Regions from separate parts of the Homo sapiens genome. Here region 1 is linked to region 2. The links are contacts of gene promoters, found by promoter capture Hi-C in human tissues and cell types (Jung and others, 2019). All regions are on one chromosome and are shown on one strand. Each heading gives the region's core, a stretch centred on a gene start or on the middle of the fragment in contact. The rest is flanking DNA. Distances are from core to core; before and after follow the strand shown.

Evidence for each region. Contacts are between HindIII fragments. The study calls those that stand out against the background at their distance.
Region 1: a contact is called between a fragment that was not itself captured here and the fragment with the promoter of DAZAP2 in region 2, in 1 of the 25 tissues and cell types used here (dorsolateral prefrontal cortex).

The regions. Positions count from the first base shown.
Region 1 is chr12:50,402,103-50,409,260 of GRCh38, reverse strand. The region is part of intron 1 of LARP4 (La ribonucleoprotein 4); the gene reads right to left. Among named protein-coding and RNA genes, the nearest start is that of LARP4, 4.8 kb to the right of the region's middle. The HindIII fragment of the contact is 3,065 bases long and covers 3,451-6,515 here.
Region 2 is chr12:51,234,906-51,241,913 of GRCh38, reverse strand. It overlaps DAZAP2 (DAZ associated protein 2), which reads right to left and starts at 3,088. Exons shown (of 4, transcript NM_014764.4): 1 at 2,994-3,088; 2 at 1,453-1,571; 3 at 798-1,043. The coding sequence starts at 3,006. RefSeq lists enhancers at 1,489-2,125, 2,842-3,091, 3,015-3,309, 3,401-4,038 and a silencer at 3,182-3,291. The HindIII fragment of the contact is 10,606 bases long and covers 1,046-7,008 here.

The DNA.
Region 1 (7,158 bases), core at 3,734-6,233, 830 kb after region 2:
CTCAGTCTCAGCAGAGATTTAGACCCAGGCAGGCTGGCCCCAGAGTCCATGTTTCTAGACATTGTTTTCTTCTTGCCTGCTGGTCAAAGAAAAAAAAAATCTTTTATGTAACCTTGTATATAAATGTATCTTAATTTTACTCAGTCACTGCCCTCCTATTTTTTTTCTTCCTCCAACTCAAAAGGCAAAAATAATCCTATTTTCATTATCTTGCTCAACTGCAACTTTCTGCCCTATAAATTTACATTTTCCACAGCCAATATATTTAAAAAAAAAATTTTTAAGACATGGGGTGTCACTATGTTGCCCAGACTGGTCTTGAACTCCTGAACTCAAGTAATCCTCCCACCTCAGCCTCCCAAAGTGCTGGGATTACAGGTATGAGCCACGCCCACCCAGCCTGCCATACCCAATGTAACAAATATTTCAGTACCCACTTACGTGCATTATGTTACTTTGTTAGTATAGCAGGAAAGAAAGTCTTGCCAATAAGCACACAGTAAACCTCTAATCTCTTCTGAAAATTTACAAGTTATTATACAAACCAGAATACTTTTGAGAAGGAAAAAGGGTAAAACATCTGTCACAGAAAATATTTGTATGCTGTGACCTTCCAGGGCAAAATAGCAGGTAAGATCATCTTACCTGCTAGTCAGTAGTATGAAATACTATCGAACTATTTGTTACACAAACCCTGCATTACTGCAGACTTTTCTACCCTGCATTACTGCAGACTTTTCTACCCTGACGAGAAATCCTTTTCTCGCCGGGTGCGGTGGCTCATGCCTGTAGTCCCAGCACTTTGGGAGGCCGAGGAGGGCGGATCACCTGAGGTTGGGAGTTCGAGACCAGCCTGACCAACATGGAGAATCCCTGTCTCTACTAAAAATACAAAATTAGCCAGCATGGTGGTGCATGCTTGTAATCCCAGCTACTCAGGAAGGCTGAGGTAAGAGAATCACTTGAACCCGGGAGGCGGAGGTTGCAGTGAGCTGAGATCACACCATTGCACTCCAGCCTGGGCAACAAGAGAGAAACTCCAGCTGGAAAAAAAAAAAAAAAAAAAAAAAAAAGCAGAAAATCCTTTTCTCTTCTCTCAGTACATACAAACCCAATAGAACTTAACTCAACTCATCCCTGGAGTTTGGCATTTATGAATGCAGTTCACATCCTACCCCTAATAATATTCATCTAAAGCACTCTTCTGTCTTTGGTTTAGAGCCCGTCATTTAAAAACAGTAGAGATATTCTGTGAACCAAAGATTGGTTCAAGTGGTGGGACAAGGACACAGGTAAGACAGGAAAGATGAGTACATACTTAGATGTTTCTTTTTCTTACATTTACTTACACTTTTACATTATAATTTTTTTCAAAAGAGTAAGTGCAAAGTGCCTATTTGCATTTTAACATTTGTATTCCTTTAATTAATTTTCCTTTTTTTGAGACAGTCTCACTGTCACCCAGGCTGGAGTGCAGTGACATGATCTCGGCTCACTGCAACCTCTGCTTCAAGGTGTGCCTCAGCCTCCCAAGTAGCTAGGACTACAGGCACATGCCCAGATAATATTTTTATTTTTAGTAGACATGGGGTTTCGCCATGTTGGCCAGGCTGGTCTCAAACTCCTGGCCTCAAGTGATCCACTTGCCTCGGCCTCCCAAAATTCTGGGATTACAGGCATGAGTCACCCCGCCCAGCTGTACTCCTTTAAATGCTGCAAGTAAATGTGTATTTTAACATACTGCCATCTTCATTCCTCTTTTAAAACTTTTATTTGCCCAACCAAAAGTATACTCTCCAACTATAAAAAAAACTTTAAATAATTATAAATTGTTTGACTTGCCCTAAATCAGAGTATGTTAGTAACAAGGCTGAGATGAAAACTTAGAAGTTATACTTCTCTTAAATTAGTTTAAACCTTAAAGAAAACAAAGCTTCGGCCAGACGCAGTGGCTCACGCCCGTAATCCCAGCACTTTGGGAGGCCGAGGAGGGTGGATCACAAGGTCAGGAGTTCGAGACCAGCCTGACCAATATGGTGAAACTCCGTCTCTACTAAAAATACAAAAAATAGCTAGGCGTGGTGGTACGCGCCTGTAGTCCCAGCTACTCAGGAGGCTGAGGCAGAAGAATCGCTTGAACCCAGGAGGCGGAGGTTGCAGTGAGCCGAGATCATGCCACTGTACTCCAGCCTGGGCGACAGAGCAAGATTCCATCTCAAAAAACAAACAAAAAAACTGTTAAGATGGGCTGGGCGCGGTGGCTCAAGCCTGCAATCCCAGCACTTTGGGAGGCTGAGGCAGGTAGATCTGAGGTTAGGAGTTTGAGACCAGCTTGGCCAACATGGCGAAACCTCGTCTCTACTAAAAATACAAAAATTAGCCAGCATGGTGGCGTACGTCTGTAGTCCCAGCTATACTGGGGAGGTTGAGGTGAGAGAATCACTTGAACCCAGGAGGCAGACATTGCAGTGAGCCGAGATCATGCAACTGCACTCCAGCCTGGGCAACAGAGCAAGATTCTCTCTCAAAAAAACAAAAAACTGTTAGATGATACTTTTTAAGTTATATGTATTTCACAATTAAAAATATTTTTAACTGGTGGCATGAGCCTGTAGTCCCAGCTACTCAGGAGGCTGAGGCCAGATTGCTTGAGCCCAGGAATTTGAGGCTATGGTGTGCCATGACTGTACCTGTGAATAGCCACTGTACTCCAGCCTGGACAACACAGTGAGACCCTGTCTCTTAAAAAATAATAAAATAATAATTTAAAAAAATTTTTTGAGGCAGGGTCTCACTCTGTCATCCAGGCTGGAGTGCAGTGTCATGAACATGGTTCACTGCAGCCTCGATCTCCTGGCTCAAGTGATCCTCCCACCTCAAGTGTAGCTGGGACCACAACACATGCCACCAGGCCTGGCTAATTTTTTAAATTTGTTTGTAGAGGTTGGGGGTGGGGGTGGGGGGTGTCTAACTTTGTTGCCCAGGCTGGTCTTGAACTACTGGGCTCAAGCTATCCTCCCACCTCGGCCTCCCAAAGTGTTGAGATTACAGGCATGAGACACGTTACCCAACCTAAAATATGTTTTAATTATTTAAGAGTTATTAAAGCGTCCTAGGTCGTATGAAACTTAACTGCTACCTAAGTAAGTAAGTACAGTTGGCCCTCCATATCCATGAATTCCATATCCATAGGTTCTGTATCAGTGGAGCAATCAATCACAAATCAAAAATACTCAGAAAAAAAAATCATTGCATCTGTACTGACAATGTAGAGACTTTTTTCTTATCACTCTATAAATAATACAGTATAGCAACTATTTATAAAGCATTTACATTTTAATAGGTATTATAAATAATCTAGAGATTATTTAACATATACACAAAGATGTGCATAGGTGCTACGCAAATACTATGCCTTTTTATGTAAGACTTGAGCATCCAAGGTTTTTGGCATCTACAGAGGGTCCTGGAACCAATTTCCCACAAATACTGAGGGACAACTGTCTTCATTTTCAGGGAAAAACTCAAACAGAGACAGAAACCCAATTTCAGTAGTCACTGCATACCCACCCTTCCCAGTCTCTAGTTTTAATTTTTTTTATTTAAACAAAAATTTCAGCTTGAGCAAAAAAGCAAAACCCTGTCTCTACAAAAAATACCAAAAAAGAAAAAAATTAGCCAGGCATGGTGGTACATGTCTATAGTCCCAGCTACTTTGGAGACTGAGGTGGGAGGATCACTTGAGCTGGGGAGGTGGAGGCTGCAGCAAACGAGACTGTGTCTCAAAAAATTAAAAATTAAAAAAAAAACTGTAAATAAAAGAGAGAAATGAAAAAATTTTTTTAAATTACTATCTGCCTCCTTAGGGCTCACAAGTTTTAAGTAACTTGATAGCATTCAGATGAAGGTAGTACACTGCAGTTTCAAACTTACAAACAATTTGTTGTAAAAGAATTCATGGCAGGTCATGTTTGATGACTTTGTGAATCATCCAAACTTTTACCTCTTTCCAGAGAGGGACATTGTTTGTTTCTCCTTCAGAACAGAGGTGGAAAAAAAATCTGCCAGGCGCGGTGGCTCACGCCTATAATCCCAGCACTTTAGGAGGCCAAGGCGGGCGGATCACTTGAGGTCAGCAGTTCGAGACCAGCCTGGCCAACATCGTGAAACCCGTGTCTACTAAAAATCAGGAAAAAAAAAAAAAAGGCCAGGCATGGTGGCACATGCCTGAAGTCCCAGCTACTAGGGAGGCTGAGGCAGAACTGCTTGAACCCGCCAGGTGTGGTGGCTCACGCCTGTAATTCCAACACTTTGGGAGCCCGAGGTGGGCGAATCATGAGGTCAAGAGACCGAGACCATCCTGGCCAACATGGTGAAACCCCATCTCTACTAAAAATACAAAAATTAGTTGGGCGTGGTGGCATGCGCCTACAGTCCCAGCTACTCGGGAGGCTGAGGCAGGAGAATCACTTGAACCCAGGAGGTGGAGGTTGCAGTGAGCCGAGATGGCGCCACTGCACTCCAGCCTGGGCAACAAGAGTGGAAACTCCGTCTCAAAAAAAAAAAAAAAAAAAAAAAACTGCTTGAACCCAGGAGGCGGAGGTTGCAGTGAGCTGAGACTGCGCCACCCTCTAGCCTCGGTCTCAGAGCGAGACTCGGTCTCAAGAGGAAAAAAATAAAACAAACCAATAATCTACTGAAGTCAATATAGTTGGTCTTGCTCTGTCACCCGGCCTGGAATGCAGTGGCACAATCACGGCTCATTCCAGCCTTGACCTCCCATACTCAAGCGAAACTCCTGCCTCTGCCTCCCTAGTAGCTGGGACTACAGGTACATGCCACCACATTGGGCCCAAGGCCAGGTTTTAAAAAGTTGCATCTAAGTATTATTTACATAGGATTGATTCCTTGTCTGCAATATATTCTACTCCAATACAAGTAGGTGGTTGATGAGTTCTAATACAAGCTTCCATGTTCACTAGCTGTATAAACTTAGGCAAGTTTAAATTATATGTGCCTTAGTTTCTTTTTTTTGAGACAGAGTCTCACTCTGTTGTCCAGGCTGGAGTGTAGTGGTGCCATCTCAGCTCACTGCAACCTCTGCCTCCCAGGTTCAAGCGATTCTCCTACCTTAGCCTCCCGAGTAGCTAGGATTACAGGTGTGTGCCACCACCTCTGGCTAATTTTTGTATTTTTAGTAGAGATGGGGTTTCACCATGTTGGCCAGGCTGATCTCAAACTCCTGACCTCAGGTGATTTGCCACCCACCTCAGCCTCCCAAAGTGCTGGGATTACAGGCATGAGCCACTGCGCCCAGCTGCCTTACTTATCACTAAAATGGGGATACTAACACCTCATAGAGATATTGAGACTTAAGATGTACAGATATCTATATATGCAAAAACATCAAACGTTCCTGACACAAAGCACGATACAAGTATATACTACTACTGTTGTTATTGTTATATTGCTATTATCTATCCTACTGATTCTAGTGGGATAGTTAAGCTGGAATCTCTCCAGAAAAATACACATAAGTAAAAGGTATTGAACACAACTGCAGAGGACCCAGGGATCCCAGATTAACCCTGCCAAAGATGATCCACAAGCAAGTTGGTTTAGTAAAGCAGTTCTTAACCTCTTCTGTGACACAGACCTCTTTAGTAGTCCAATTAATCTATGGATCTCTTCTCCGTTTTTTTACATTTCTAAAATATATAGGATCACAAAGTAAACCAATTATATTGAAACGCAGTTATCAAAATATTTTAAAATGTCTAATATAGCAATACGTTAACAATATTTTTGACATATAGCAAGTAATGAGCATAAATATTTCAAGATAACTGCAAAAGCTGTAATACATGTAAAAAAGTGATTTGTCTTGGTGACAAGGTCACATACACTGTTGCTGCCATTAACATTTAAAGAATTTTCACTTCTTTTCCATTTAGATTTCAGTTAGAAGCTAGAGAAAATAAACACGCAAATTTTTTTCCTCAACCAAGCTTAGGTACTTACTTCCTCAATTCTATCCAAAAACCTAGATTAAGAACCTTTGACTTATGGGAAAGTACAAAAATAATTTTGAAGCCAGAAATTTATGTTCTAGAAGTCAGACTTCAGACTTTAGCCCCCACATTATTTACACTTGAATGACCTTAGACATCTAACTTCTGAGCTTTGGTTCTCTCACTGAGAATAATTCCTCTATCATGAGGTTACAGGGATCAAATATTAGTTAACAAAACGCCAAACGACCAACATGTTGTTTTTCACTGATTTTAATACCACATATTCAGCCCCAAATATTTAAAGACAGTTAATTTTCAATAAAACTCATATGAGAAAATGAAGAATGACATAGTGACTCACAAAGAAAATGATTAATGGAGATACAACTTTTAAACACTAGTTTGGCGAGAGATACGATAGAATTTGTCTAACCTGGGGAGTCGGACAGGCCTGAATTGCTAACATCCCGTCCATGATTTGACATCAGCATGACCTGGATCTAAATCCCAGTTAAACTACTTTACTTTTACTAAGTAAAGTTACTTTAACCTCTGGGGCTCGGTTTTGTCATCTGTAAAACATATTAAGTATCGCTTTAGAGACAGGAGAAGACCTAGTTTAAACAATAAATGGAGCTGTTATTAAAACTTACATTTTAATAAAGCCAAAGGAATCAATTTGGAAGTCAAAAGTATATTGTGGAGTTCCTGTCAATATAAACTTCACAATCTTTCTTCTGCCCAGCAAAACACACACTTAAAACCTGTGGTATTTACATAGCATAACATTCCTTAAAAAAACTGGCTGGCACTGGCTTAAAATCTTATCTGATTTCTTATTCTGCCTAAGGAAAACAACAATGAGGACAGAAAACAGTAAACAGAATGAGTTCAGTAATTTTAAGTCTTTTCATGATTTCCCCGGAATGTTCCAATGAATGTTTATTATGAATGTTAGATACACTCTAATGTAGCAGTCTTTTAAAAAACTAATTTAAAGATATCAAGCTTATCGGCGACACAATATCAGTTAGTTTAAAGAGAAAAAAAAACCGTAAAATCATTTATTTACTTTATGCTGGAATATTACGGAGTAAGATTTTCCCACAACCCGGAAAAAAAAATCTGCCATAGGCTGGCCCCG
Region 2 (7,008 bases), core at 1,839-4,338:
GTCTTGCTCTTGTCGCCCAGGCTGGAGTGCAGTGGTGGGATCTCAGCTCACTGCAACCTCCACCTCCCAGGTTCAAGTGATTCTCCTGTCTTAGCCTCCCAAGTAGCTGGGATTACAGACGCCTGCCACCATGCCCGGCTAATTTTTGTATTTATAGTAGAGTCGGGGTTTCACCATGTTGGCCAGCCTGGTCTCAAACTCCTGACCTCAGGTGAGCCACCGTGCTTCGCCCTTACACAGTTTTTGAATGAACTACTGGAAAACTGAAGGCTCGCTAATGACACATTCACTTCATCTCTAGCATGTAGTTACTGAGCAGTCATTTGAGCTCTAAATCCCACGCACTGGGGAATTAAGTAGGAAAAAATGATAACTAAAATTGTTAATATCTTTCTAAAAGCTACTTACTAGGGATTATACATTCTACTTTTTTAATTATCAGGGTTCCTAGTGCAACACCATGCTGATGGCAAATATTAAGTAAATGGTAAATGCTTATGGAATGAATAAGGAGCATTACTAGACCAGTTCAGTGTACCACAATGAACTGGAAAAGCAGCAAGCAGGACTCGACAGACATGAAAACAAAAGAATCTGGTTAACTCAGCCCCCAGTGAGATGCTACTCACTTGCCACAGTTCTGCCCCCTCAAACACTTTCTGCCTGAGTATTGGATGTCAGTAGTTGTACCAACACTGGCAACTATCATCCAGAAATGGTAAGAGAATGAATATGAAGTCATTTCAGAAAGTTAAAATACACAAGGGCTGAGTTTCTTCTGATGAGGTCATACTCACAGGAATGTTGCCAGCAGTAGCCCCAGCTCCAAATCTGGCACCTGCATCATACCCTCCTTCCACCAGCACTGTGGAGCCAGGTGGATAGATGGGACCGACTGGATAATAAGCCATGGGGATTGTGGAACCTAAAGGCCCAACAGCCACAGACTGGGCCATGGGAAGATACAGAGAGGCTCCAGGAAATGCGGCTGACATGGTGGGGACTGTGGCAGCCCCTGGGTGCACAAAGCTCGGACGATAGAGCTAGAAGAGGCAGAAGAGAAGGCAAAATGTTACTTTATGACATTCCTATTTGAGATCTCTTTAATGAGCTAATTCTTAATTCTCCTTATGCAGGTTATACTTTTTGTAAGATTATACAAGTTGCCTTTCCACTGGCCTTCAATATTCTCCTGGATCACTTTCTGCTATAGCTAATGTTGGGCTCACAGAACGCAAATTCATCTTCTGCACCTTAGCCTGTGCCAAATAACACAAAATCATCAAATAATGCACTTTCAACTCCGACAAAAATTGCCAAATTATATAGTGTTTTAGATTATTCATGTTAGCATTTGTGAAGAGTAAATATGTGAAGTCAGATTTAGCTAAGGACTAAAGGACCACCCTAAGAGTATTCCCAGCTAGTTCAAATCTGGCAAACTGGAAGCACCTCTGAGTAGGCAGGTGGAGCATCGGTATAGGGTGGAGCCTGAGGAAGATGCAAGGTCTGAGGGTATACTGGATTCCCAGGAGGCTGCACAGGGTAGGTTGGCTGTGTTGGATATTGACCTGAAAGACAAGAAAAAAATGAAGGTTGCCTACTACACAGAGCTACCAAAATGAGGCAGGTCATATCGGGTAGCTAACTTAGTGGGAGCAAGCAGAAGGGGATTTGCAAATAGTCTGCCCCAGAGGGCCTGATTCCTGGAACTAAGAAAATATGCATTGTCTTTGCACCCTTAAAATGGAAGGTGCTGGATTCTAACGAGACAAGAAAGGCACTGCTCACTGCTCCTACTAACATACCGAAGTAAGGGGTTAAGTCTACCTGGGCCCAAGTTCCCTCCGGAATGCAGGACAGGTCTGGGGTTCTGGCCTGCTGCTGTTCTGGCTTATCAAGGGTGCCTCTGCTCTAGGTAGTCTCCACAGCCTGTCTACAACCAGCCCAGACTTCGTGGGTAACAGCAGTTCTGATTTTCCTTACAGATTACTATTCAAGGTCGACTTCCAAACAAAGGGTGTGAATGATGGAAGTGAACCGTGAGACTGGGAAAAGGGTGCAGGGCTGAGGGGTGAGGAGGAATATCCTCACTGGAAAAGCGGGGGATCAGGTTTGGTTTTTTGTTTGTTCTGAGACGGAGTCTCGCTCTTTTGCCCAGGCTGGAGTGCAGTGGCGCGATCTCGGCTCACTGCAACCTCCGTCTCCTGGGTTCAAGCAATTCTCCTACCCCAGCCTCCCGAGTAGCTGGGATTACAGGCGCCCGCCACCACGCCCAGCTGATTTTTGTATTTTTTAATAGAGACGGGGTTTCACCACGTTGGCCAGGCTGGTCTCGAACTCTTGACCTCAGGTGATCCGCCCGCCTCGACCTCCCAAACTGCTGGGATTACAGGCGTGAGCAACCTCGCTCGGCCTTTTTTTTTTTTTTTTTTCTATTCCTTTTTTACCCCCTCAACCTATTCCTGCGTTATGGGAATCATGTTCCGACAGACACACTGGTACAACCACAGAAAAGGGGAGAAGTTCTGATCCCGTCAGCGAAGGGCGAGGGGGTGCGAAGGGAAGGAAAAGAGACCTCACAGGCCCCGGCCCACGAACCAACTCCAGCAATTCAGTAGTTAAGTTCGGCCCCGCTGGGGGTTCCGGAGCGCGGCGCCCCGCCTCCGCCGGCTCTCCATTGGCCTACGCGAATGCCTGCGCTAGCGCTCTATTTGCTCCTGCGGATGCCCATCATGTCAAGCCCCCCCACCACCCGAGCCCGCAGCTCCAAACTGCGCCACAGAGTTTACGGAGGAAAGGGCCTGGAGGCAGCAAGCTGCCGTAATTTGGGTATGACGAAGGCGTCAGGCGCAGCGCCCTGGACTGCAGCCGGCCAAGGAGCATGGCGCAGCCCACCCCAAACCTGGCGTTTGGTGACCCTGGGCTCCGAATCCGCTCGCTCTGGGCCAGCAGTACTCCCCCCGACGGCCTCTGCCACCCTCGGTCCTTGCCTTTGCTGTTCATGGTGGTTGCGGGTCCGGTTTGTCTCGGCGTCGCGGACGGTTATTTTTTTCGTCCTCTTCCTGTTCGGAGCTACTTCCGTGTCACATGATGGTCCGTCCGCCTAGCGTCACCCGACGCCCGAGTGGCGCTGCCGCCGGAAACTCCGCCCCTGCTCCGGGCCTCCAGTCGGCCGCGGGAGGGTCCGCGCGGTCCCGCCCACTCGCCTTGGCCCCACCCCCTGCTCGTTTCTGTCCTCCCCCCCCCTACCGGTGTCCCTCAGCTGGAGAAAAACCAAATGCAGGTATTGTCTGGAAACAGGATCTTTTCTCTGTTGGACGCTCGGATGCAGAACGATGCAAGCATTCCCCGGAACCTTTTTCCACCTACACGCATTCACTCAAGGTCACCTCACCTTGGCAACCTTCCACGAGGGGCTTAGATTTCTGCAAATTTGTCGCACTGCCTGAAATCGGCTCCCCACACCTTAGTTTATCATGCGTCCCTCCCCACCAAGCCCAACTTAAGCTTCAGCTCTGTTAAAATTTATTTTGCCACTCCAGCTCACATGTATCCTTTCCTGAATGAGACCTGCACTGGAATCTTCGCTGCCCTGTCTTCCCCAGGACAGTCGTTGCCTTTCTCACGTACAGGAAGGGGTTATGTTTTCCGTGCTGTACGCAACACCTGGCACTGAAACTGACATAACTGCACTACCCATGGAGTGTTTGTGGCCCTTTCCTTTTTTTAGCACCTGTTGCAGGTGACCTGTATGGTACCTCTATTTTTCTCTATGTATGGCTTCTCTTTCTAACCTAATTATCCTTAAGGGCAAAGATGGCATCCTTTAGGGCAGCGATTAAGTGTTTTCTTTTCTTTTTCTTTTTTTTTTGAGACGGAGTCTTGCTCGCTTGCCCAGGCTAGAGTGCAGTGGGGCGATCTCACCACAGCCTCCACCTCCCGGGTTCAGGCAATTCTCCTGCCTCAGCTTCCTGAGTAGCTGGGCCTACAGGCGTGCGCCACCATTCCTGGCTAATTTTTGTATTTTTAGTAGAGACGGGGTTTCACTATGTTGGCCAGGCTGGTTTTCTTTCTTTCTAAAAAAAGTTTTAATTTTTTCTTTTCTTTTTTTTTTTTTTTTTTTTTTTGAGATGGAGTCTTGCTCTGTCGCCCAGGCTGGAGTGCAGTGGCATGATCTCGGTTCACTGCAACCTCCGCCTCCTGGGTTCAAGCAATTCTCCTGCCTCAGCCTCCCGAATAGCTGGGATTACAGGTGCCCGCCACCACGACCGGCAAATTTTGTATTTTTTAGTAGAGACGGGGTTTCACCATGTTGGCCAGGCTGGTCTCGAACTCCTGACCTCAGGTGATCCACCTGCCTCGGCCTCCCAAGGTTCTGGGATTACAGGCATAAGCCACTGCGCCGAGCCTTATTTTTATTTATTTATTTATTTATTTATTTATTTATTTATTTATTTATTTATTTTTGAGACAGAGGCTTGGTCTGTCGCCAGGCTGGAGTGCAGTGGCGCAATCTCAGCTCACTGCAACCTCCGCCTCCAGGGTTCTAAGCGATTCTCCTGCCTCAGCCTCCCGACTAGCTGGGATTACAGGCACGTGCTATTCATTTTTTAATACAGAGATGGGGTCTCCCTGTGTTGGCCAGGCTGGTCTTGAATTTCCAGCCTCAAGCGATCTTGCCACCTCCATTGTCCAATGATTAAAGGGTTAACTCTTAGGACCCAGGAACTCTCCTGGGCCTACCTCCTGCTCATGTAAACTGCCCTCAGATTGGTCAGGCCTACTTTACAGGTTGTTGGGTATTTTGCTTGTCACAGTGGGACCTGGGCATTGGGAAAACCAGGGCAGAGCCAAATGAGATTACTAACAAAAATGAAAGAGTTGCAGGCCAGTGCTTTCTCTGGCAGGTGGAATTAAGAAGTAAATGGTGGCTGGGTGCAACAGCTCACACCTGTAATCCCAACACTTTGGGCAGCCTAGGCAGGAGGATCGCTTGAGCCAGGAGTTCAGAACCAGCCTAGGCAGCATAGTGAGACTTCATCTCTACAAAAAAAAGTAGTAGTAATTAGCTACTTTCTTGAACAGGATCAAACTTTGGCATTTTCTTCATTCTCGTAGATTCCCCAATGAGATGAAGATGTTTATTTGGTCATTTATCAAACATTCTTTCTTACATTAATTTAACAAATATTTTTTGAGCACCTATTATGTGCCAGGCCCTGTGACAGGCACTAGGGAAATAATAATGAAGAGACAGGCATAGTCCATACTCTCATGGAATTTATGGTCTACCTAATGGGAGAGACAGAAAAGTGAACACATAATATGATTAGTGCTGACATAAAGACAGCATGGAGTGTGAGGAGAACACATAGGTGAGGCACCTACTCTATTCTGATGTAGTCAGGGAAGGTTTCCTGATGCAAGTGATGTCTGAGATGAAATCTGAAGGGTGAGAGCAGGTTAAGCAAGTGAAGAGGGTTCCTGGAAGAGGGAACTGCTTATGCAAAGGCCTAGAGGTGAGAAGGCTTATAGAGGGGGAGGGCATGAAAGAGTTCAGTGTAGCCAGAGCATACTGGTAAGGGGACTGATAAAAGATGACCCTGAAGATCCGGGTGCGGTGGCTCATGCCTGTAATCCCAGCACTTTGGGAGGCCAAGGCGGGCAAATGACTTGAGGTCAGGAGTTCGAGACCAGCCTGGCCAACATGGGGAAACCTCGTCTCTACTAAAAACACAAAAATTAGCTGGGCATGGTGGTGCGTGCCTGTAATCCCAGCTACTTGGGAGGCTGAGGCAGGAGAATTGCATGAACCTGGGAGGCGGAGGTTGCAGTGAGCCGCGATCGTGCCATTGCACTCCAGCCTGGGTGACAGAGCAAGATTCTGTCTCAAAAAAAAAAAAAAAAAAATTGACGCTGAAGAACTGTGAGCCAGACCTTGCAGGGACGCCTTAGAGCCCATGTAAGATCCCACATGAAGATACTGGATTCTATGTTAAGGGCACTAGTTAGCCACTGAAGAATGTTAAGCAGGAAAGTGATATGATCTTGTTTTTGTTTGATTGATTGATTGATTGGGACAGGGTCTTGCTCTGTCACCCAAGCTGGAGTGCAGTGGTGCAGTCACAGCTCACGGCAACGTTGAACTCCTGGTCTCAGTTCATCCTCTCACCTCAGCCTCCCGAGTAGCTGGGACAGTGGGTGCTTGCCACCATGCCTGGCTAATTTTAAATTTTTTATAGAGACAGAGTCTCACTTTGTTGCCTAGAGTAGTCTAGAACTCCTGGCCTCAAGCAATCCTCCTGCCTCGGCCTCCCAAACTTGGGATTACAGGCGTGATCCACTGCTCCTGGCTTGTGTTTTTCTTTTAGAAAAATGCTTCTGGGCCAGGCACAGTGGCTCATGCCTGCATTCCCAACAATTTGGGAGTCCAAGGCAGGAGGATTCTTTGAGCCCAAGAGTTCAAGACCAGCCTGTGCAACGTGGTGAAACCCCATCTCGGCAAGAAATTTCTAAAAAAGTATCCAGGCATAGAGGCACGCACCTGTGATCCCAGCTACTCGAGGGGTTGAGATAGGAGGACTGCTTGAGCCCGGGAGGTCGAGGCTGCAGTGAGTCGTGGTCACACCACTGTACTCTGCCAGCCTCGGTGATAGAGGCTATCTCAAAAAAATAAAGAAAAGAAAAGGAAAAATCCCTCTGGTTGCTAAAGAATATAGAATAGGTTAAAGAAAGGGCAAGAGTGGACGTATGTCTGAGATACCATTTAGAATCAAATTTAGTCATTTAGGTGTGATGATGGCAGACTGGCCTAGGGAAGAGGCAGTACAGTAGAGAGAAATGGGGGGATTCCAGAAATATCCAGGAAGCAGAAACAACTGGACTAGTTCCAGGACTAATGTCAGGACAAAATTTCTACAAAGTCAAAACTCCATATAGTCAAATGACAAATTGGAAAAATATATTTGTAATTTACATCACAAAGAGCTAATCTTCCTGCATGTA